Regions from separate parts of the Homo sapiens genome. Here all the other regions are linked to region 1. Evidence: promoter capture Hi-C in 16 types of primary human blood cells and fetal thymus (Javierre and others, 2016). All regions are on one chromosome and are shown on one strand. The core of a region is centred on a gene start or on the middle of the fragment in contact, and the rest is flanking DNA. Distances in the headings are between cores, read along the strand shown.

What was found. Contacts are between HindIII fragments. The CHiCAGO score rates a contact against its expected background, and 5 or more counts as called.
Region 2: a contact is called between a fragment that was not itself captured here and the fragment with the promoter of TTC9 in region 1, in 2 of 17 cell types (total CD4 T cells and non-activated CD4 T cells). The highest score is 6.3, in total CD4 T cells.
Region 3: a fragment that was not itself captured here is called in contact with the fragment with the promoter of TTC9 in region 1 in 6 of 17 cell types (naive CD4 T cells, activated CD4 T cells, total CD4 T cells and 3 more); the score reaches 7.5 in naive CD4 T cells.
Region 4: a fragment that was not itself captured here is called in contact with the fragment with the promoter of TTC9 in region 1 in 5 of 17 cell types (total CD4 T cells, naive CD4 T cells, activated CD4 T cells and 2 more); the score reaches 7.0 in total CD4 T cells.
Region 5: a contact is called between a fragment that was not itself captured here and the fragment with the promoter of TTC9 in region 1, in 6 of 17 cell types (total CD4 T cells, naive CD4 T cells, non-activated CD4 T cells and 3 more). The highest score is 12.2, in total CD4 T cells.
Region 6: a contact is called between a fragment that was not itself captured here and the fragment with the promoter of TTC9 in region 1, in 2 of 17 cell types (non-activated CD4 T cells and total CD4 T cells). The highest score is 5.1, in non-activated CD4 T cells.
Region 7: a contact is called between a fragment that was not itself captured here and the fragment with the promoter of TTC9 in region 1, in 1 of 17 cell types (non-activated CD4 T cells). The highest score is 5.7, in non-activated CD4 T cells.

The regions. Positions count from the first base shown.
Region 1 is chr14:70,640,470-70,643,402 of GRCh38, forward strand. TTC9 (tetratricopeptide repeat domain 9) reads left to right here and starts at 1,447. Exons shown (of 3, transcript NM_015351.2): 1 at 1,447-2,066. The coding sequence starts at 1,661. TTC9-DT (TTC9 divergent transcript) reads right to left here and starts at 829. Exons shown (of 3, transcript NR_110071.1): 1 at 539-829. RefSeq lists enhancers at 342-521, 622-881 and silencers at 1,352-1,501, 1,722-1,911, 1,932-2,001. The HindIII fragment of the contact is 1,411 bases long and covers 1,281-2,691 here.
Region 2 is chr14:71,021,020-71,023,952 of GRCh38, forward strand. PCNX1 (pecanex 1) reads left to right here. Exons shown (of 36, transcript NM_014982.3): 13 at 2,181-2,213. Among named protein-coding and RNA genes, the nearest start is that of PCNX1, 120 kb to the left of the region's middle. The HindIII fragment of the contact is 751 bases long and covers 987-1,737 here.
Region 3 is chr14:71,002,703-71,005,635 of GRCh38, forward strand. The region is part of intron 8 of PCNX1 (pecanex 1); the gene reads left to right. Among named protein-coding and RNA genes, the nearest start is that of PCNX1, 97 kb to the left of the region's middle. The HindIII fragment of the contact is 5,736 bases long and covers 1-2,933 here.
Region 4 is chr14:70,982,942-70,985,874 of GRCh38, forward strand. All of the region lies in intron 6 of PCNX1 (pecanex 1), which reads left to right. Among named protein-coding and RNA genes, the nearest start is that of PCNX1, 77 kb to the left of the region's middle. The HindIII fragment of the contact is 3,468 bases long and covers 1-2,933 here.
Region 5 is chr14:70,963,940-70,966,872 of GRCh38, forward strand. The region is part of intron 3 of PCNX1 (pecanex 1); the gene reads left to right. Among named protein-coding and RNA genes, the nearest start is that of PCNX1, 58 kb to the left of the region's middle. The HindIII fragment of the contact is 3,015 bases long and covers 37-2,933 here.
Region 6 is chr14:70,940,666-70,943,598 of GRCh38, forward strand. All of the region lies in intron 1 of PCNX1 (pecanex 1), which reads left to right. The region is part of intron 2 of LOC105370557 (a long non-coding RNA gene); the gene reads right to left. Among named protein-coding and RNA genes, the nearest start is that of PCNX1, 35 kb to the left of the region's middle. The HindIII fragment of the contact is 1,267 bases long and covers 826-2,092 here.
Region 7 is chr14:70,911,482-70,914,414 of GRCh38, forward strand. The region is part of intron 1 of PCNX1 (pecanex 1); the gene reads left to right. Among named protein-coding and RNA genes, the nearest start is that of PCNX1, 5.5 kb to the left of the region's middle. The HindIII fragment of the contact is 727 bases long and covers 1,043-1,769 here.

The DNA.
Region 1 (2,933 bases), core at 197-2,696:
GTTAACTGAGACCCACCCTCAGAGTTTCTGATTTCTTAAGTCTGGAGTAGGATCCTAGGATTTGCATTTCTAACTGTTTCCCAGGTGATGCTGACACTGCAGGTCTGGGGCCAGCACTCTGACAACCGGTGCTCTAGAATCTTTCTTTTTCTTAACATTAAGGAAGGGAGGGCACTAAAAAATATGTCAGGCTTCTCCATTGACTCCAAAATCAAATCCAAACTCTTCATCCAAAAGCCCCCATAATCCAACCCCGTCATTTCCCACTACTTCTCATTAGGCTATAAAATCAAACCACTATGCCCTAAACACACCTGAGATTTCAAACATCAGGACTTCCGCTGGATTTCCTCACTCCGGCTATGCCACTTCCTTCTACTTCTTCATGCCAAATCCTACCCAGCCTTCAAGGTCCTCAAATGCTATTTCCTCCATAAAGCCTCCTGATCTACCACTACTCAAAAAGCTACCTCTCCCTCCCCCCCTCAGGGCTGCACAGCACTTTTCGTTCCTCCCCAATGACAGGCACCATCTGTACCTGGTCCAGCGACTCTACCGGTGGGTGGTGTATCTTCGCCTGTAGACTGGGAGTTTCTTGAGGTCAGGGGAGTGACTTGCCTATCTTTGCCTCTTAGCCTTAGCAGATCCCCAGTAGACAGCTGACACTCAGAACCGACCAAAAGAAGGAAGGAATGGGACCTCCTGAGGAAGGGCACAGAACTGTCCTGTAAATGGAAACTAGACCGGACGCACGCCAAGCCGATGACCCACAGTAACAGGTGTTCTCCATCTCTGATGTCTGTGATTCATCCTGCACAGCTGCGCGCACACAGCACACGCATACACAGGCTCCCAGAATACGGCGCCCCACACGCTGTACCGCCCGTCGCGTTCTGGACGCCCCGGCGACCACACACACCGAGACACACCTCAGCGACAACCTGGATCCACAAAAAGGAGGCCCTGCCCCCTTAAAAAATACTAACACCTTACTGCAAAGAACTAGCAGCTACGGCTTGCGCCTGCGCCCCTTGTTCCCTGCCGCACCTTTTCTTGTAGTTAAGAAATCTATTTCTGCACGCATTTCGTCGCCGCCGCCCCCCATCCCTACACGCACGCACACACACACACACACACGCACACACACACACTCCCCTTCCCCTACACCTACCCCCCTCCCCCCACCTCCTTTCAGACTAGGCGCGCCTCGCAGAGCGGGATTGAATGGGAAAGAGCGGGGCCGTCTTTGTCATTAATCCTCCCCTCCTTCGGGCAAGCCAAGCTTCTTCCGGGTCAGCGACCATCCCCGCCACCCCACTCGGGGCCACGGTCCCCCCGCAGCGCTAGTCCCGGGCCCGCGAGCACCGGCCCCCGCCACCCGCAGGTTGCGGAGGGAGGAGGGCGGGAGCGGGCGGCGCGGAGCCGGGAGGCGGGGGAGGGGCCGGCGTCCGAGGCGGCGGCGGCGGCGGCTGGAGCAGCCTCTGGCAGCAGCGGGGAGAATGGGAGTGCGGGGCGCCAGACCGCCGCGGGGTGTCACGGCCGCCACGAAGCCTGCGAGGCGCGGGGCCGGCGCCCGCGGCTTTTAAACCCGGGAAGGCGCGGCGGCGGCGGCGGCGGCGGGCAGATCGCGGCGCGCACCAGGCGCCGGGGCGGCGGCCGAATGGAGAGAAAGGGCTCGGCGGCCGGGGCCAAGGGGAACCCGAGCCCGCCCGCGGCCGGAGAGGGGCAGCGGCCACCGCCGCCGCTGTGCGTCCCGGGCGGCGGCGGAGGAGCCCCAGCGAGGGGCCAGGTCGGGGCGGCGGCCGAGCCGGCCGAGCTCATCCGACGAGCGCACGAGTTCAAAAGCCAAGGGGCGCAGTGCTACAAGGACAAGAAATTCCGTGAAGCCATAGGCAAATACCACCGGGCGTTGCTGGAGCTGAAGGGGCTGCTGCCGCCCCCCGGGGAACGGGAGCGGGACTCGCGCCCGGCCTCCCCGGCTGGGGCCCTGAAGCCCGGCCGCCTCTCGGAGGAGCAGAGCAAGACGGTGGAAGCCATCGAGATCGACTGTTACAACAGCCTGGCAGGTGAGCCGCGCCGCGCCCCCCGCGCCGCGGTCCCCGTTCTTCGGCCCGGTCCCTCCGCGGACCACTGCGGCGCTCCCGCGGTGCAGATTCTCCTGCTGTGACTGTGTTGCTCTGGGGAGAACCCGGGAGGGAGGCGCTTTGGAAAAAGTGTGACTTTCAGGATTATGCCTTTCAAAGGCCATAATCATCTCTTGTCCCTTCGCTAGCATACATCGTAAATCTCACCTAGAAATGACTGGAAGGGGACCCAGCTGGCCTGGCTATGGCTGCTGCTGCTACTGCTCACCAGTGGACCTGGGTCCAAAATGCGGAAGCAGCGCCCGGGGTGGGCCCCCGCAGCCACCGCTAGCCCAGCTTTTTCCTGCGGGTGGGTCCCAAGGGAGGCCACGCACCTGTCTGCTCTCCTTAGGTAGCATGAGCACCAGGATTGGTCCTCGCCTTTTCCCCAACTAACCGCATCCCTGTAGGTAAGATCTTCCCCAAGTTTTTTGGCCCCAGTAGCAAAGGGGAGTTTGACACCATGCCTTCAGCATCTTGAGCAAAATGGATTCCAGAATGCCACTTTCTTCTCTCTGAGCTCTGCTGGGGCTCCCGGTTGCCAGGTGAAGATCTCTATCTCAAAAGAAGCTTGGTTCATGGTTGGGCTTGAACTATGCTGCATTCTCCCTCTCCTCCCTGCCCGTTTCTCACTATGTGTAGCATCAGTCCTCACGCCAGCTGGCTGCTAGGGGTGAAGGAAAAGGGGGCCCTACTCTTGGGCAAAGAAGGTGTACATTCCAACATTCCCTTTGGGGATAAGAGCCAAAATCAGGGATTTAAAAATTGTTTAATTTAGGCGCAGGAATATTTAAAGTCTCTTAAAAAAAG
Region 2 (2,933 bases), core at 112-2,611, 380 kb after region 1:
CCTTTCCCCATTGCTTGTTTTTGTCAGGTTTGTCAAAGATCAGGTGGTTGTAGATGTGTGGTGTTATTTCTGAGGCCTCTGTTCTGTTCCATTGGTCTTTATATCTGTTTTGGTACCAGTACCATGCTGTTTTGGTTACTGTAGCCTTGTAGTATAGTTTGAAGTCAGGTAGCGTGATGCCTCCAGCTTTATTTTTTTTGCTTAGGATTGTCTTGGCTATGTGGGCTCTTTTTTGGTTCCATATGAAATTTAAAGTAGTTTTTTCTAATTCTGTAAGAAAGTCAGTGGTAGCTTGCTAGGGGTTGCATTGAGTCTGTGAATTACTTTGGGCAGTATGGCCATTTTCACAATATTGATTCTTCCTATCCATGAGCATGGAATGTTTTTCCATTTGTTTGTGTCTTCTCTTATTTCCTTAGCAGTGGTTTGTAGTTCTCCTTGAAGAGAAGCCCTCCCACAGCTGGAAAACCATTGACATAGTTCTGTTTTTACTAACAGCTGTCCATCCTTTCTTTCTCTTCTCCATTTATAGCTAGACATGTGGAGTAAGCCACCTAGGTCATCTGCTTTATTTCTTTAAGACCCATCCATACTTTCCTCATTGCAGTACTGAAATTATAGTCTTTGTGGTTGCTAATGATCATTCTAATTGCTAAATTGCTTTTCTTAAGTCTCCATGCTTTATGAATGCTACATCATTTAATACCTATGTATACTCTTCCATTTTGATATTCTCCTCATTTTTGATCATGACTTTATACCACCCTCATGTTTCTTTCACTTTTCAGATGACTCTCTTTTCCTTTGTTGATCCCTCTTTGTTCTTTCAACTGCTTAATTTATGAGAATTCTCTAGGACTTATGTGGTTATCTTCTCGGTTTACAGTTCCTTTCCAGTGAAGTCATCCTTTTTTATTGCTTTATTTGTTGCCTTTGTATATGAGTTATTTCCAGATTTATATCTCAAAGTCTTCACCTCTTTTGCAAGCTTTAGTCCTGTGTATCTAACAGACATTTTAAAAATAGCAAATTAATCATCTCCTGGTTAATTTTTCTTTCCCAATATCTTTGCTTTTGGCAGTGATATACCTGCTAAAAATCTTTGAGTCACTGCTCCTTCCTCCTTGATCACTAATAACAAGTAACCCAGTCCCTTTGATGACATTTAATGATTGTATATTAAAATTACTGGTTGTCAGTCTTGCACTATACCTTTAGTGCCCTAAATCATTTAAATTCATTTTGCGGCTCTAGTGTCTCCATGGTCCAATTAATTTTGTCCACTGCTTTCAGGTTAATGTGGTTAAATATGGAAAAGGTAAAAGGTGACAGATTTTTGCAACTAGTTGACTAGAAGAATAATAATGTCATAAACAGGGATAAGAAAGACAAGAACAGAAGCATTTAGAAGATAGGCGCTGTGGTTAAAAGAGTTTAAAGATTATCTGGAGTCAAATCTAGCCAAGGGCCAAATGCCAAACTCAGTGAGCTTGGCCCAGTATCGAATGGTAGGGTGGTGATAGATAATCCTAGTGAAATTGTATGGTATGCCATTGGAAATGAACTGAAACTTGGGAGAAAAGTCATGAGTAGGGAAGTAGCTGCATAATACCTTCTGAACATTTTTATGGGAAGTTAATAAAATCTCTTAAAAGGATACAGCTTAACTTATTTGATTATTTTGATATGAAAATGCAGATAATATCTTTATTACAAATACCATTGAATTATTTAGTAAGCTTGGAATTTATGGGCAGAACTAGAATTGTTGTTATAAGTGAACCCCTATTATTGTATATTTCCTGAATGAATGATGTCCTGTGAGAAATACTATACTTGTATTTAGTATACCTTAACTCCACTTGTATATAGCAATAAGCCAAACAGTAAGATGGCTCTGTCTATCATATGCTATTGCAGAAACTTTAAGATAGATACAAATAAATACATAATAATCTTATTTCCTGACTCTTATCAGGAAAGATTTGATATGTTTTTAATATCACAGTGACACTGGTATCTGGAGCTGATGTTTCATCTCTGGAACAGAATTATTAATATAGGTCATTTTGTGGTTGTGGAATATTTACTTAAAATCATTCATTTCAGGCATTTTGAAAGTTGGTTGTAAAATTAGCAAGACTTCAGGAGTGTAATTTGTCTTTCTGTTTCATTTTTAGAGTGTTCAACCAGATTCTTCTTCTCCCAGACATGTAAGTCACTCTTAATATGGCTGTACATTATAGGTCCTTAACATTTATCATAATATTTGTGGTTTGTTTTTTGTTTTTTTGTTTTGTTTGGAATGCATCAGCCTGAACTAAAATTTATGTTATTATTTTCCTCATCTATGTTTTGACACACTACTAGAAATATAGGTGTTTTGTTAGCTTGAAATAAAATGACATTGTACTTGTGGACTCTAAATCTTGGTTGAAAATGAGCATGATAATTCACTTTTTGATAGTCTGTTTCAGGGAGTAGACATGGTTCTTATAAACTCATGATTATTTGTGTTTAATACATTTTGAATAATAGCTTATGAATAGGTATTGAAAATAGAATTTTGAAGTAGGAAAAACTTTATATTATTTCACTTGAGTAACCATTAGGAGCAAGAATAAAGAAGTAATACCTGAGTCTGGTGTTAAGACCATTGAATAAAAACTTTGTTATTCACTTCGTGACTTTAGACAAAAATATTATCTGCCTAGCACTATTTATTGTGAAATGGGATCCAATTTTAGATGTAAATTGAGGTTTTAATAGAACAGAGGATATTCTATTTAAAGTAGTTCAAAAATAGACTTCATGAATAGTTTATGATTTTTTTCCTTGAATATAATTTTTTTAATCCTTTCACTGGAATAATGAATAATGGGAATGGATGAGCAAAATAAAACAAAGAGGCAAGTGTGGTTTTTGTTTTTGAC
Region 3 (2,933 bases), core at 155-2,654, 360 kb after region 1:
TCTTACTGCTGAGAATTCCATTGTATGAGCAGGCTGTATATTGCTTATCTGTTCACCTGGCGATGGTTGTGTTGTTTCCCGTTTTTGGCTGTTGTGAATAAAATTTCTGAACTGTCTTTTTGAAAAGAGTTCTACATCCCCACCACCAAATTCCAGTAGTTCCCTTTCTTGCCAACATTTGCTTTTGTTGGCCTTTAGAATTGTAGACATAATGGGTATAGAATGGTAACTCATTGTGGTTTAAATTTGAATTTCTCTTATGACTAAAGATAGTAAGCATCTTTTGATGTGCTTATTGGCCACATACATATATATCTTCTTTTGTGAAGTGTGTCCAGAAATTTACTCATTTTAAAAATCGGGTTGTTGGTTGTCTTCTTTTTTTTTTTTTTTTTTTTGAGACAGAGTCTCACTCTTGTTGTCCAGCCTGGAGTGCAGTGATGCAATCTCAGCTCTCTGCTACCTCTGCCTCCTGGGTTCAAGCGATTCTCCTACCTCAGCCCCGCAAGTAGCTGGGATTACAGGTGCGTGCCACCGTGCCCAGCTATTTTTTTATTTTTGTATTTTTAGTAGAGACGGGGTTTTGCCATGTTGGTCAGACTGGTCTCGAACTCCTGACGTCAGGTGATCTGCCCGCCTCGGCCCCCCAAAGCGCTGGGATTACGGGCATGAGCCACTGCGCCCAGCCTGGGTTGTTGGTCTTCTAACTGTTGAGGTATGAGTTCTTTTGATATTTTAAATACAACTTATTTGTCAGATACAAATTACAAATATTTTCTCCCATTCTGTGGCTTGTCTTTTTGTTTACCTGACCAGTCTTAATGTCATCAATGTCGTTATTATAGATTATTTTACCCAAGTAAGAAGAACTTGTCTTTTTGAAATAAAATGTGAGTGGATAATGAAATCACAGCAAAATATGAACTTGTACATTCACTTTTGGAAAGTTCAGCTGATTTGGGGATTAGCAAGCAGGAGTGGAGTTTTTAACAATTAATTAAGGCATGTTTTATTAACTCAGAACTAGATAATCAGATAGCCATGTCAGTAAAATATATCAGTATGTAAATCTCACTTATAGTTGCCAAGCAATAGAGATATCTGTCTTTCCTTACCAGTCCCCAAAGCTGTCTTCTAAACCAGACTTTCTTCTTATACCTACCTTTTCCTTATCCTTCTGATTTAAAAAGCTAGAACAGCATTGCACATACTAAGAAAAAAGACTTGTTCTAAATATTGAAACTTGAAGTTACAAGGACATAGTGACCTGATTTCCATTGTATCATGAGGATTAAAGAAGTTTTTGGAGCCTAAGATTCTTGGTCTAGGACAGGTGTTAGTAAACCACCGCCTGTGGGCTAAGTCCAGCTCTATACCTACCTGTTTTTGTAAATAAATAAAATTTGTGTTTATGTTCTGTATTGTCTTATGCCTGCTTTCATGTTACAGTTGTAGACTTGAATTGTTGCAACAGAGGTTATCTGGCCCATGAAGCCTAAAGTATGTATTATCTGGCCCTTCACAGGAAAAGTTTTCTGACCTTTTTATTTCTCCCCTAATCTAGGGAGAAACAAGTCCATTAACCCAGGGGTCCCCAACTCCCAGGCCATGGACTGGCATGGATCTGCGGCCTGTTAGGAACAGGGCTGCACAGCAGGAGGTGAGCAGGGTGTGCGGAGCGAGCATTTCTGCCTGAGCTCCGCTTCCTGTCAGGTCAGTGGCAGCATTCAGTTTTCATAGGAGCATGAACCCTATTGTAAACTGCACATGCAAGGGATCTAGGTTGCCCACTCCTTATGAGAATCCAATGCCTGATGATCTGAGGTGGAACAGTTTCATCCTGAAACCGTCCTCCAATCCCCTGGATCCATAGGAAAGTTATCTTCCATGAAACTGGTCCCTTATGCCAGAAAGGTTGGGGGCCAGAAAGGTTGGGGACCGTTGCATTAACCAGTAAGCAGCAATATAGTGAGTAATTTCTGTGTGGGTAAAAACTGAGTCACCACTTATGATTATAAGGGGGGTGCTATCCAAGAAATTAGAATTGATCTTAAAGGCCTTCTCTTTAAAAGTATAATATATTCATTGAGATTGCATTATGAACACAGTGCTATCTCCATCAGATTATTTCTTGAATAACATTTCTATTATTGAGTACTTCAGTCATATAGAATGTATATGTTCCCCCAAATGTCTTTTAAAAACTCACTTTATACATTTACTGCCCATATATCTCTCTTTGTTTTTATAGCCCCTCTCTGCCCTATGAGTAATACTTAAAAAAAGAGAAGTCAGTGTAGACAGTGCATCAGGCTTGGAGGACACAGAATGAAGGGAAGGTTGGGGGAGGTAGGTGGTTAAAGAAGAAAATTATCCAAGAAATTTAAGAGACCTCTTTTGTTGTTGGTACTTGGAAGATTAGAAAAACACTATGGATGATTTGTTGTTCTAGTAACCACCTCCTTCCAAGATACATATAGGTAACTTTAGAAAAATGAGTGATGTCAAGAATGCAACAGGCTGGGCGTGGTGGCTAACACCTGTAATTCCAGCACGTTGGGAGGCTGAGGCAGGAGGTATCACTTAGGCCCAGGAATTCGAGACCAGCCTGGGCAGCATAGCAAGACCCCCATCTCTACAAAAAAGTTTTAAAAAGTAAGCCAGGCACTGTGGCGTGTGCCTGCAGCCCCAGCTACTCAGGAAGCTGAGGTGGGAGGATCACTGGAACCTAGGAGTTTGAGATTGCAGTGAGCTATGATTGTGCCATTGCACTCCAGCCTGGGTGACAGAGTGAGTCTCTGTCTAAAAAAAAAAAAGGGGGGGTGGGGAATGCAATTGGAGTTTCTTAGGTGAGTACTGTTCTTAAAATTCTTGATGTACTCAACTTCGTTTTGTATGGTGAGGATTTTTACTGATAGGGTAAGTTAGAGAAT
Region 4 (2,933 bases), core at 124-2,623, 340 kb after region 1:
GACTCCAATGAGCTTAAACCTAATGACTGTAGAAATGTGAAAATGCTTTATGTATTGTAGGTTCATTATATAAACAAAGACAGTGATGTCTTTCATTTGTAAGGATGTGTCCCCTCTCAAAAATGTCACTTCGAATACATGTGTTCATCACTACTGACCCTTTATTAAGGGACTCTCCTGAAAGTGGATGCAAAATTGTATCTAACGGGTTGATATCTTTCATCCCATTCACAAAGGACTAAAAAGGATTAGAAATCACCTATAAAAGTATAAGTAATACTTAAGCTATATTTGTTTGGCTGGTGGACTTGTGGAAAATATCAGTAAGGATGTGCAAATTATCTTTAACGCAAAGCTCAGCTAATAATTTTTTTTTTTCTTGGGACGGAGTCTCACTCTATTGTCCAGGCTGGAGTGCAGTGGTACAATCACAGCTCACTGCAACCTCCGCCTCCCAGGTTCAAGCGATTCTCCTGCCTCAGCCTCCCGAGTAGCTGGGACTGCAGGTGCCCGCCACGACACCCGGTTAATTTTTGTATTTTTAGTAGAGATGGGGTTTCACCATATTGGCCAGGCTGGTCTCGAACTCCTGACCTTGTGATCCGCCCACCTCGGCCTCCCAAAGTGCTGGGATTACAGGCGTGAGCCACCGTGCCCACCCATAGCTAATAATTTTGTTACTGTTTGCTCTGGTTCCTTGGCTTGTCAAAAAGTAGGCCAGTCCTTTAAAATGTTTTCACAGATGGAAATTATTTTAATTCAGAATTGATGCTTAGAAATTGGGCAGTGTTTGGCTTCCCAGAAAATGACACTTAAAAACATTTATTTATTTACTTATTTTTTGTTATTTCCAACAAGAATGAGCTTGAAAAGCATTTGTTTTTTCATTGGAACAAAATCTTTGTATGTTGATGGTAGCATCGTTCTTGGCTGACAAAGAAACTAAGAAAGGGAAAAACTATTTAGATAAAGTGGATTTCATGCCTAGACTAAAACATTCCTTTTAGAATGTTTTTGCAAAATTACTTGAATGTTTATGTCTTTATATAGTAATTTTGTTGTTGGGTAAAATCCCTTTTATCCTGAACATTACAATGTGTTTCAGAATGTTTGCAGATGCCTTTTCTTTTTCTGAGATATATATATACTTGTTTCATACTTTTGTCATCTTTCTTAAGAATTTAATTTCCTAATAGCATTTTTTCTGATCTTTTTGAAGTACTAAATGCCTATTTTTATTTTCGTGATCTTTCCAGATTTACACCTTTTCCCCCCACGATAAACATTTCTCACTGGAAAGAACACTTGAGCAATTTCCTCTGTCTAAATTTTTATTAATTTAATTGAAATTGAGCTACTGCAAGATGCCAACCATAGCAGTACATGACAACTAGAAAGTGACTTATTACATATTATTTCTTTCATAAATTAATCAGGTATATGATTGACATCATTTTTTTTTTGAGACGGAGTCTCACTCTGTTGCCCAGGCTGTAGTGCAGTGGCACGATCTTGGCTCACTGCAAGCTCCACCTTCTGAGTTCACGCCATTCTCCTGCCTCAGCCTCCCGAGTAGCTGGGATTACAGGCGTCCACCACCACGCCCGGCTAATTTTTTGTATTTTTAGTAGAGACGGGGTTTCACCGTGTTAGCCAGGATGGTCTCAGTCTCCTGACCTTGTGATCCGCCTGGCTCGGCCTCCCAAAGTGCTGGGATTACAGGCGTGAGCCACCGCGACCTGCCGACATCATTTTTAAATAGCATCTTTATCTGTGTGTATTTATACTCACAGCTTCCAATTTTTGAGATAGAATTTGGATAGCCATTACCTCCTACCTCATTAAATTTTGCTCTTTGGGCATCCCAGCTATTCTAAAAGTATATTAGTGCCTTTAATGCTTTCTATGCTTTTATTCACAGAGTAGAACCAACTGATAGTCTATAATTGTAATACTACCATAAAAAATAAATAGTTGCACTAAAATAATTCATTTTAGAATGTGTAGAATTTTCCTTATCTCATTGAGATAAATGTGAAGTAACTCCTGAGGTGGGAGGTATGTATTATGGATTAAACTTCCTTTGTTATCTTCAGGAATGGACCAGATCACAGCTGTCTAAAATGTAAGAGGATATTTTTGGTTTGTCCATGAATTGAACTTAGGCATTTAGTAAATGCTTAAACTTAATTGAGTGATTGCATCAGTATAACAAAAGGAAACAGCTAAATTATCTGAAGGGTCCTCTTATTTTTATTTTATTTATTTTGTTTTTAATTTTATTTTATTTTAGATGGAGTTTCACTCTTGTTGCCTAGGCTGGAGTGCAGTGGCACGATCTTGGCTCACTGCAACCTCCGCCTCTTGGGTTCAAGTGATTCTCCTGCCTCAGCCTCCCGAGTAGCCGAGATTACAGGCGCCTGCCACCACACCCGCTAATTTTTGTATTTTTAGTAGAGACAGGGTTTCATCATGTTGGTCAGGCTGATCTCGAACTCCTGACTTCAGGTGATCCACCCACCTCGGCCTCCCAAAGTGCTGGGATTACAGGCGTGAGCCACTGCGCCAGGCCTGAAGGTTCCTCTTAAACTTATTATGATTGTGAAGTCAGTCTTTTTAACACAAATAAATGATTAGAAAGTTGAGATTTGTACGTTAGAAAAAATACATTTCAAAATATACAACTCTCTGGATATATACCCTTGGAAGTATTTTATACTTCTTGTCATTCACGGTTTTTGAATTGCTTGCATGTTTTTTCTTTTTTACCTACACATGCATAAAGTTTAGTTGTACTAGAGTGCTAATTTTTCACTATCTGCATTTTATGCTCTTACTATTGAATTAATTTCATTCTTCTTTGCCAGAGATACTGGGTTTTAAGCAGTGTCAAAATGTCAACTCCAAAAACAGTTTTTAAAGTATTTTCTCCC
Region 5 (2,933 bases), core at 294-2,793, 320 kb after region 1:
CATGTAGGTTGTTAAATTTATCTTCCTTCCATAACAAGCTTATGGAATGGGAGATGTCAAGAGTTTTTTTGTTGTTGTTGTTTGTTTGTTTAAAGAATGTGAAAAGAGCTATGACATATTAATTAGATTGATACTTTTTTTTTCTGAGATAGAATCTTGCTCTGTCATCCAGGCTGGAGTGCAATGGCACAATCTTGGCTCACTGCAACCTCCATCTCACAGGTTCAAGCTGTTCTCGTGCCTCAGCCTCCTAAGTAGCTGGGATTACAGGTGTCTGCCACCACACCTGGCTAATTTTTTTGCATTTTTAGTAGAGATGGGGTTCACCATGTTGTCCAGACTACCTCGAACTCCTGACCTCAGGTGGTCTGCCCACCTCAGCCTCCCAAAGTGCTGGGATTACAGATGTGAGTCACCATGCCCAGCCTTAGATTGATACTTTTTGTTTCAAATTTTACAATGCCTGTTTGAAGACAAGGGTTACTATCCTTGATCCTGTTTTTTTGTTGGCCTTGTGTTTCTCTGTCTCTTTTTATAGAATGAAATAACTCAATTCTTGAATATGGCTGCATGTCTTGTATTCTTAATTAACCCTGGGCTTTCTTCTTATTGACAGACGTAGGTAGTATCAGACCCCCAGAGAGTAAGCCTACATTTCTCCAATCATCTTTTGGAGACCTTTTTTCCTTTTTACAAAAAGGAAAGATGAAAGGGCCAGCAGTGGCCAGGCACTTTTGGATCCTGTGACCTTGGCATCGTGTCTGTTGGAACTTGCCTGTTTGTTTTAGGGAGGGAGTCCCTTTTTGACTGTGATTAAAGCATGTGTGCATGTTGTTAAACACACAGCATACCTTTTACTTAATAACTTTTTAATAAAAATGGGCAAATATTGGAGGTTATTGTGCTACTTGGATTTTAGTGTTTTCGTTTTATACTGTTTATGACAAAATAAATGGTTGACATAATTATTCTTACACTTTAGAGAAGCTGAAGTGAGGAGGAAGAGTCTGGCTTTTTGCATATTGCTGGAGATATTACCATTATAGACATACTGTTGTTTCTTGTATGTATTTTATTATATAATGTGTAAGATACTGCTACACATTATCATATTTTATATAAATTTGTTGGGTACTAAACAGTGAACCCACTGACCATAGTAGCTACATCGTGGTCATTGTTACTATTCTTTCCTTCACCTCTGCCTTTCTCCCTTTCATCTTCTACCCATCATTTCCATTCTTTCTTTTCATTCCTCTCCTTACCTCCTTCTCTTTCCTTTTGTCACTTTTCTACCTTCAAATATTTTAGCGCCCAATAGTATTCAAGGCATTCTACTTAGTGTGGGTTGGGGAGTGGGTCTTATACTGAAAGAGATTGTGATCTCATAGTAGGTGTGATATAAGTAACCAAAGATAAAGATGTGATATATGTTACCAAGGGGCCAGGCACGGTGGCTCACGCCTGTAATTCCAGCACTTTGGGAGGCCGAGGTAGGTGGATCACGAGGTTGGGCGATTGAGACCAGCCTGGCTAGTATGGTGAAACTCCGTCTCTACTAAAAATACAAAAAATTAGCTGGGTGTGGTGGCATGCACCTGTATTCCCAGCTACCCAGGAGGCTGAGGCAGGAGAATTGCTTGAACCCGGGAGGTGGAGGTTGCAGTGAGCTGAGATGGCACCACTGCACTCCAGCCTGGGCAACAGAGTGAGACTCCGTCTCAAAAAAAAAAAAAAAAAAAAGATAACGAAGTAAAAATTGCCATAGGAATGGTAGAGAAGAAGAGCTAATGATTTCATAGGATAAAATAATTGTTTCCAGCTGGAGAGACAGGCATGGCTTCTTGGGGCAGGTGGCCTTGCCTGATATGCTCTCTAGTTAGAAGTAACCTTTCTTCCCTGGTATCCATAATCCTTCCTATGGCACTTGTCATAGAGAAGAAACAGTGGAATATTTTAGTTTATGCAAAGCACTTAAATAAAAAACTTCACCCTCAAGTGTAAAAAGATACTGTTTTTTCTTAATCTTTACATTTTCATTTTTAGGAAATTTAATGAGTGAGGGCAAACAGGAAAATTAAAATAATCTATGTCATAATTGATTGTATCATGAGCATTAATATCATTAAGTGTTTTTCTACAGTGACACTTTGGGGAATGCATTGCATTTGGATATACTATAGTTTATATTCTGGAGCCCTGTTGTTTCACTTGTAAATAGTCATGATTCTTTTTGAGGGGAAGCATAATGCAGAAAAGTATGAAGAATAAAATATAACCACTCTATTATACCTGTTAAGAATGTTTTTGTCAACAAGTAATAGAATACTCAACTAATAGTGACTTAAAGAAATAGTTGTTTTTCACCTAAATCTGGAGGTGATTGTGTGGCATTTGTGTTCAGCAGCCTAACGTTAGGCCTCTGGATTGGCATCTCTGCAGTTCTCTAGGCTTTTTTCTCAGGGTTGCAGGATGAGCACAGCAGCTTCAATCAAGACCCTGTTTGAAAAGTTAGGAAGCAAGCAGTAGTGTGGGACAGAGATTTTCCTTGATCACTTTCTTCTCAGACACACAAAGACGTTTTCCTGAAGCCCTCCAGCAGATTCTCCCACACGTTCATTCACCAGAACTAGTTCATACACCTACCTCTAGACCAGGGACTGGGTGTACTTCTCATATATCAGAAGGTGTATGACCAATTTTGGAACAAAATAGGGAGATTGTTAAAGAAGGAGAAAGGGAATACTTTGAGCTTCTGAGCAAATGACTACCATATCCGTGTTTAAAAATTTTTTTTTTAAGTTTAAATTCCTAGATGGGTATGCATAAAATGGTGTTTTTGTTTTCTTGTTTGTTTTTAAATTTCTGTCTAGGAAGTTATATTTAATTCTAGCAGAAAAATAGCAAATGTTAATTCTATAACTTATGTAGCA
Region 6 (2,933 bases), core at 209-2,708, 300 kb after region 1:
GTTGGCCTGCTTTGCTAGGTTGGGGAAGTTCTCCTGGATAATATCCTGAAGAGTGTCTTCCAACTTGGTGCCATTCTCCCTGTCACTTTCAGGTACACCAGTCAGACATAGATTTGGTCTTTTCACATAGTCCCATATTTCTTGGAGGTTTTGTTCTTTTCTTTTTACTCTTTTTTCTCTAAACTTCTCTTCTCACTTCATTTCATTCATTTGATCAATCACTGATACCCTTTCTTCCACTTGATCGAATCGGCTACTGAAGGTTGTGCATGCATCACGTAGTTCTCATGCCATGGTTTTCAGCTCCATCAGGTCATTTAAGGTCTTCTCTACATTGTTTATTCTAGTTAGCCATTTGTCTAATCTTTTTTCAAGGTTTTTAGCTTCTTTGTGATGGGTTCGAACATCCTCCTTTAGCTCGGAGAAGTTTGTTATTACTGATCTTTTGAAGCCTACTTCTGTCAACTCGTCAAACTCATTCTCTGTCCCTTTGTTCCATTGCTGGCGAGGAGCTGCATTCCTTTGGAGGAGAAGAGGCACTCTGATTTTTAGAATTTTCATCTTTTCTGCTCTGGTTTCTCCCCATCTTTGTGGTTTTATCTACCTTTGGTCTTTGATGATGGTGACCTACAGTTGGGGTTTTGGTGTGGATGTCCTTTCTATTTGTTAGTTTTCCTTCTAACAGTCAGGACTCTCAGCTGCAGGTCTATTGGAGTTTGCTGGAGGTCCACTCCAGACCCTGTTTGCCTGGATATCACCAGTGGAGGCTGCAGAACAGCAAATATTGCAGAATGGCAATTGTTGCTGCTTGATCCTTCCTCTGGAAGCTTCGTCTCAGAGGGGCACCCGGCTGTATGAGGTGTCAGTCGACCCGTACTGGGAGGTGTCTCCCAGTTAGGCTACTTGGGGGTCAGGGACCCACTTGAGGAGGCAGTTTGTCCATTCTCAGATCTCAAACTCTGTGCTGGGAGAACCACTACTCTCTTCAAAGTTGTCAGACAGGGACGTTTAAGTCTGCAGAAGTTTCTGCTGCCTTTTGTTCAGCTATGCCCTGCCCCCAGAGGTGGATTCTACAGAGGCAGGCAGGCCTCCTTGAGCTGCGGTGAGCTTCACCCAGTTAGAGCTTCCTGGCAGCTTTGTTTACCTACTCAAACCTCAGCAATGGCGGACGCCCCTCCCCCAGCCTCACTGCTGCCTTGCAGTTTGATCTGAGACTGCTGTGCTAGGAGTGAGCGAGGCTCTGTGGGCGTGGGACCCTCCGAACAAGGCGTGGGATATAATCTCCTGGTGTGTTGTTTGCTAAGACCATTGGAAAAGCACAGTATTAGGGTGGGAGTGTCCCGATTTTCCAGGTGCCATCTGTCACAGCTTCCCTTGGCTAGGAAAGGGAATTCTCCAACCCCTTGCACTTCCCGGGTGAGGTGATGCCCAGTCCTGCTTTGGCTTACACTCTGTGGGCTGTACCCACCGTCCGACAGGCCCCAGTGAGGTGAACCCTGTACCTCATTTGGAAATGCAGAAGTCACCTGTCTTCTGCATCGCTCACGCTGGGAGCTGTAGACTGGAGCTTTTCCTATTCGGCCATCTTACAACTAAGAATTTTAAACTCAACTCTTTACAGGTCTAACATATTTTAACAATAATTAAAAAGGTTTTTTTTAAATAAAGACCTTATCAAATTGCACTTGTAAATTTAGTATTCATTTTTAAGGATTTAAATTATCTGACAAATGTTTGCAAGTTGAGAGGCTATAGAAAAAACAAACTCTTCTCCTACTATGCTATCACAGCACAGAACACTTCTGACAGCAGATGTGTGGGGGTGTCCCCACACACCAAGCAGTCAACCAATTTCTGCAGCAGGTGCTTCAGCAGATACCAGCTGGGTATCCTCCAATTCAATTCAATTCTGACACTGTCTACCTGGAGATACTATTAATACAAAGGATACAAATGAAAAGTTGCATGAGGCAAGGCATGTGGGAAGGGCCCTGGAGCTTCCATGCTGTCTCTGGGCATGCCACCCTCCAGAAACCTCCATGTGTTAGGTATCATGAAGCTCCTGAGTCCAAGCCTTTTGGGTTTTTATAGAAGCTTCATTATGTAGTCATGATTGATTACATCATTTGGTGATTAATATGGTTTGATTTTGTGTCCTCACCCAAATCTCACCTTGAATTGTGATAATCCCCACATATCAACTGCAGGACCACGTGGAGATAACTGAATCATGGGGGTGGTTCCCCCATGCTGTTCTTGAGATAGTGAGTTCTCACCAGATCTGATGGTTTTATAAGGGGCTTCCCCCTTCGCTGGGTACTCACTTCTTTCTCCTGCTGCCCTGTGAAGAGGTGCCTTTTGCCATGATTGTAAGTTTCCTGAGGCCTCCCCAGCCATGCAGAAATGTGAGTCAATTAAACCTCTTTTCCTTATAAATTACCCAGTCTCGGGTATTTCTTCATAGCAGCATGAGAATGGACTAATACAGTAAATTGGTACCAGGTAGTGGGGCACTGCTGAAAAGATACCCAAAAATGTGGAAGTGACTTTGGAACTGGGTAACAGGCAGAGGTTGGAACAGTTTGGAGGGCTCAGAAGAAGACAGGAAGATGTGGGAAAGTTTGGAACTTCCTAGAGACTTGTTGAATGGCTTTGACCAAAATGCTGATAGTGATATGGACAATGAAGTCTAGGCTGAGATGGTCTTAGATGGACATGAGGAACTTATTAGGGACTGGAATAAAGGTGACTCTTGCTATGCTTTATTAGCAAAGAGACTGGCGGCATTTTGCTCCTGCCCTAGAGATCTGTGGAACTTTGAACTTGAGAGAAATGATGTAGGATATCTGGTGGAAGAAATTTCTAAGCAGCAAAGTGTTCAAGAGGTGACAGAGCATAAAAGTTTGGAAAATTTACAGCCTGATGATGCAATA
Region 7 (2,933 bases), core at 156-2,655, 270 kb after region 1:
TGATTGTCCTGTCTGTTTCCTTTAAGGTACTCATTCTTTTTTATCTAGTTACAGTGATTTTTGTACATGTCACAGATGATGAGATTTTTGGGGGTGAGTGGCATTTTTGTATGGTGGAAAGCAGATTGGAATTAGTGTCTTGATTTTTGAATCTTGGCTTTGTTATTGATTGTGTGTCCTGTGGGCAAGACTCCACCTTTCTGAACCTTGATTTACTCATTTGTGAGATATTTCATGGGTGTTTTTCAAGAAAATATTTATGAAATAGAAGAAATTATTTACCTTCAGAATGGCCTTCAGTAAATGTCATTTGAAAAAATGGCTAATTGGAAGTGTTTCCTCTATAATGCTGTATGACTGTAGGAGACTAAATAGCTCTGGATTATTAAGTCAAATCATTTTCATAACATATTGCTCAATATATTGTTTTCCTCTGTAAAGCAATATATCCCTAGGTGATGAAATAGAACATTAAAATTTATGGCTGGGCGCGGTGGCTCACGCACTTTGGGAGGCCGAGGCAGGCAGATCATCACGAGGTCAGGAGATCCAGACCATCCTGGCTAACACGGTGAAACCCCGTCTCTACTAAAAAAACAAAAAATTAGCCGGGCATGGTGGCGGGCGCCTGTAGTCCCAGCTACTCGGGAGGCTGAGGCAGGAGACTGTTGTGAACCTGGGAGGCAGAGCTTGCAGTGAGCCAAGATTGTGCCACTGCACTCCAGCCTGGGCGACAGAGCGAGACTCTGTCTCAAAAAAAAAAAGAAAAAAGAAAAAAAAGAACGTTAAAATTTATTACGTAAGTGGTTCCCAGACTCCTCCAGTTGACATCAGAATCACTTGACAATGTTAATGATGTGCAAGCCCTTTCTTATTCGGTAGATCTGGAGTGTGGCCTATTGATTTGTATTTTATAAACATTCTAGGTAAGTTTAAATAACTTGATCAATATTCCTAACTACCAGCCCCTGACTGACATCCAGCTGCTACTCAACGTACCTCTTGGCTGTCTCACAGGCATCCCAAAAGTATCATGCCCAAAAGCTTCTGAATTCCCCCCTAAACAACACTGCCACAAAATGTTTTTCCTCACTCTGTCATGTTAGTTAATGGCACTGTCTGTATCTAGTTGCTTATCCCCCACCCCTTGCTTTTGAGCAAATCTTACCACTTTCTGCTCAGAGGAAAAGACATAAATCTGTGTCATTCTTTTAAATATTCTTTAAAGATTTTCTTTGGCACTTAGAAAAAAATCCAGAATCTTTATTAAGCCACCAGAGCTTATTCTGCCTTTGTTTACAGTTTGTGCAGTTTTCCCACTGTGCTGTAGTCACACTGGCCTTTCTGTTACTTTAGCCCACTGAGCCTTTTCCTCCTGTGAGACCTTTGCACGTGTTGTGCCTTCTGAAAGGATACTCTTCCTTCTTGCTCTTTGCAAGGCTGGCTGCTACTTAATCTTTAGGGCTGGACTTCAGTATTATCCCCTCACAGAGGCTGAGCCTGATAACCATAAATAGGTTCCCTCTCTTTTTTTTCATCATTCCATTCCATAACTTTCTTCCATAGCACTTAACACAAACATATATTTTTTGTTTGTTTACTTGTTTGTCCTCTCGATCATCCTCCACTTCCATACCTTGTAAGTTCCATGAGGGCAGGGGCCAGGTCTGATTTACTCATCAGTGTTTATCAAGTGTCTGCATGACTGCCTGGCTCATATTAGGATCTGAAGAAGTATTTGTTGAATGAATTTTTTATTATACATGTGAAGCTTTTTTAGACTTGTTAACTGATGTAGAATAGTTGGAGGTGGAGGGAGGATTGTGGTAGGCTGTATCATATGGTGGAGCTGCTTACTTAGGGGTTAGGTTCGGTGTCAGTCTCTACAAGACAAAAATCAAATATAAAATTACTGAAAAATCAAATACAAAATGACCCTTGAAAAACACTTAAGTCATTGAAAGTGCAGTACGTATGGCTTTTTGTGCATACAGCTGTGTGGTTATACATACATACATGATATATACAGTAATATATACCACATAAATCTGTGGAGAGATTATATTCAGACTCTAAATCATTAACAAAATTTATAAAGGTTTCAACATTTTCTTCCTAGTTGTCTTCATTGTTTTCTGTAACTGATCTTTGTCATCTTTAGAATGATATATCTTTTATTAGTGAGGATTACGCTAAAGCTCTCAGGTCATTTTCTTTCCCCCAATTTAAAAGTATTTAAAGATCATTTTAAACAAGATTTAGTTAGGGTGACTAAAACAGGGATTTTCATATTTTAAAATTTATATTTCTCTAAAAGTTTAGATCAAGCTAGAAAAGTTACTGTGCTATAAATTAGCAATTTATATTGCTATTGCATATTGTACATATGATTTTTAAGTATTATTTTCTGCATCCTTTAGGGGAAGGTTAATGACTAGTGGATGGCCTGTTTAGATCTATTAGCCTGTGCCCTTTACCAGTATTTTCAATATTTAGGATCAAAGTGAGTCTAATTATTTCCATAACTGGTCATGGCACAGATATAACTCTTATGTATTATATTACCTATAATAAATTAAGGGTACACTGTCCAAAGATGGTTTACACAGAAAACCATCTACCACATGTTCTCACTTATAAGTGGGAGTTAAACATTTGGATACCCACAGATACAAAGAAGGGAACAATAAATACTGGGGATTCCAAAAGCGGGTAGGGGGCGAGGGTTGAAAAGCTATACATTGGCTACTGTGTTCACTACTTGGGTGACAGGATCATTAGAAGCCAAACCTCAGCATCACTTAATATGCCTATGTGACAAACCTGCACATGTACCTTGCTGAATCTAAAGGAAAAGAAAATTAGACCTCCAAGAAAGCAGCCATATTTGTCAATTTGTAGAAAAGTGTATTAATTTACAAAAAAAGCAGTTG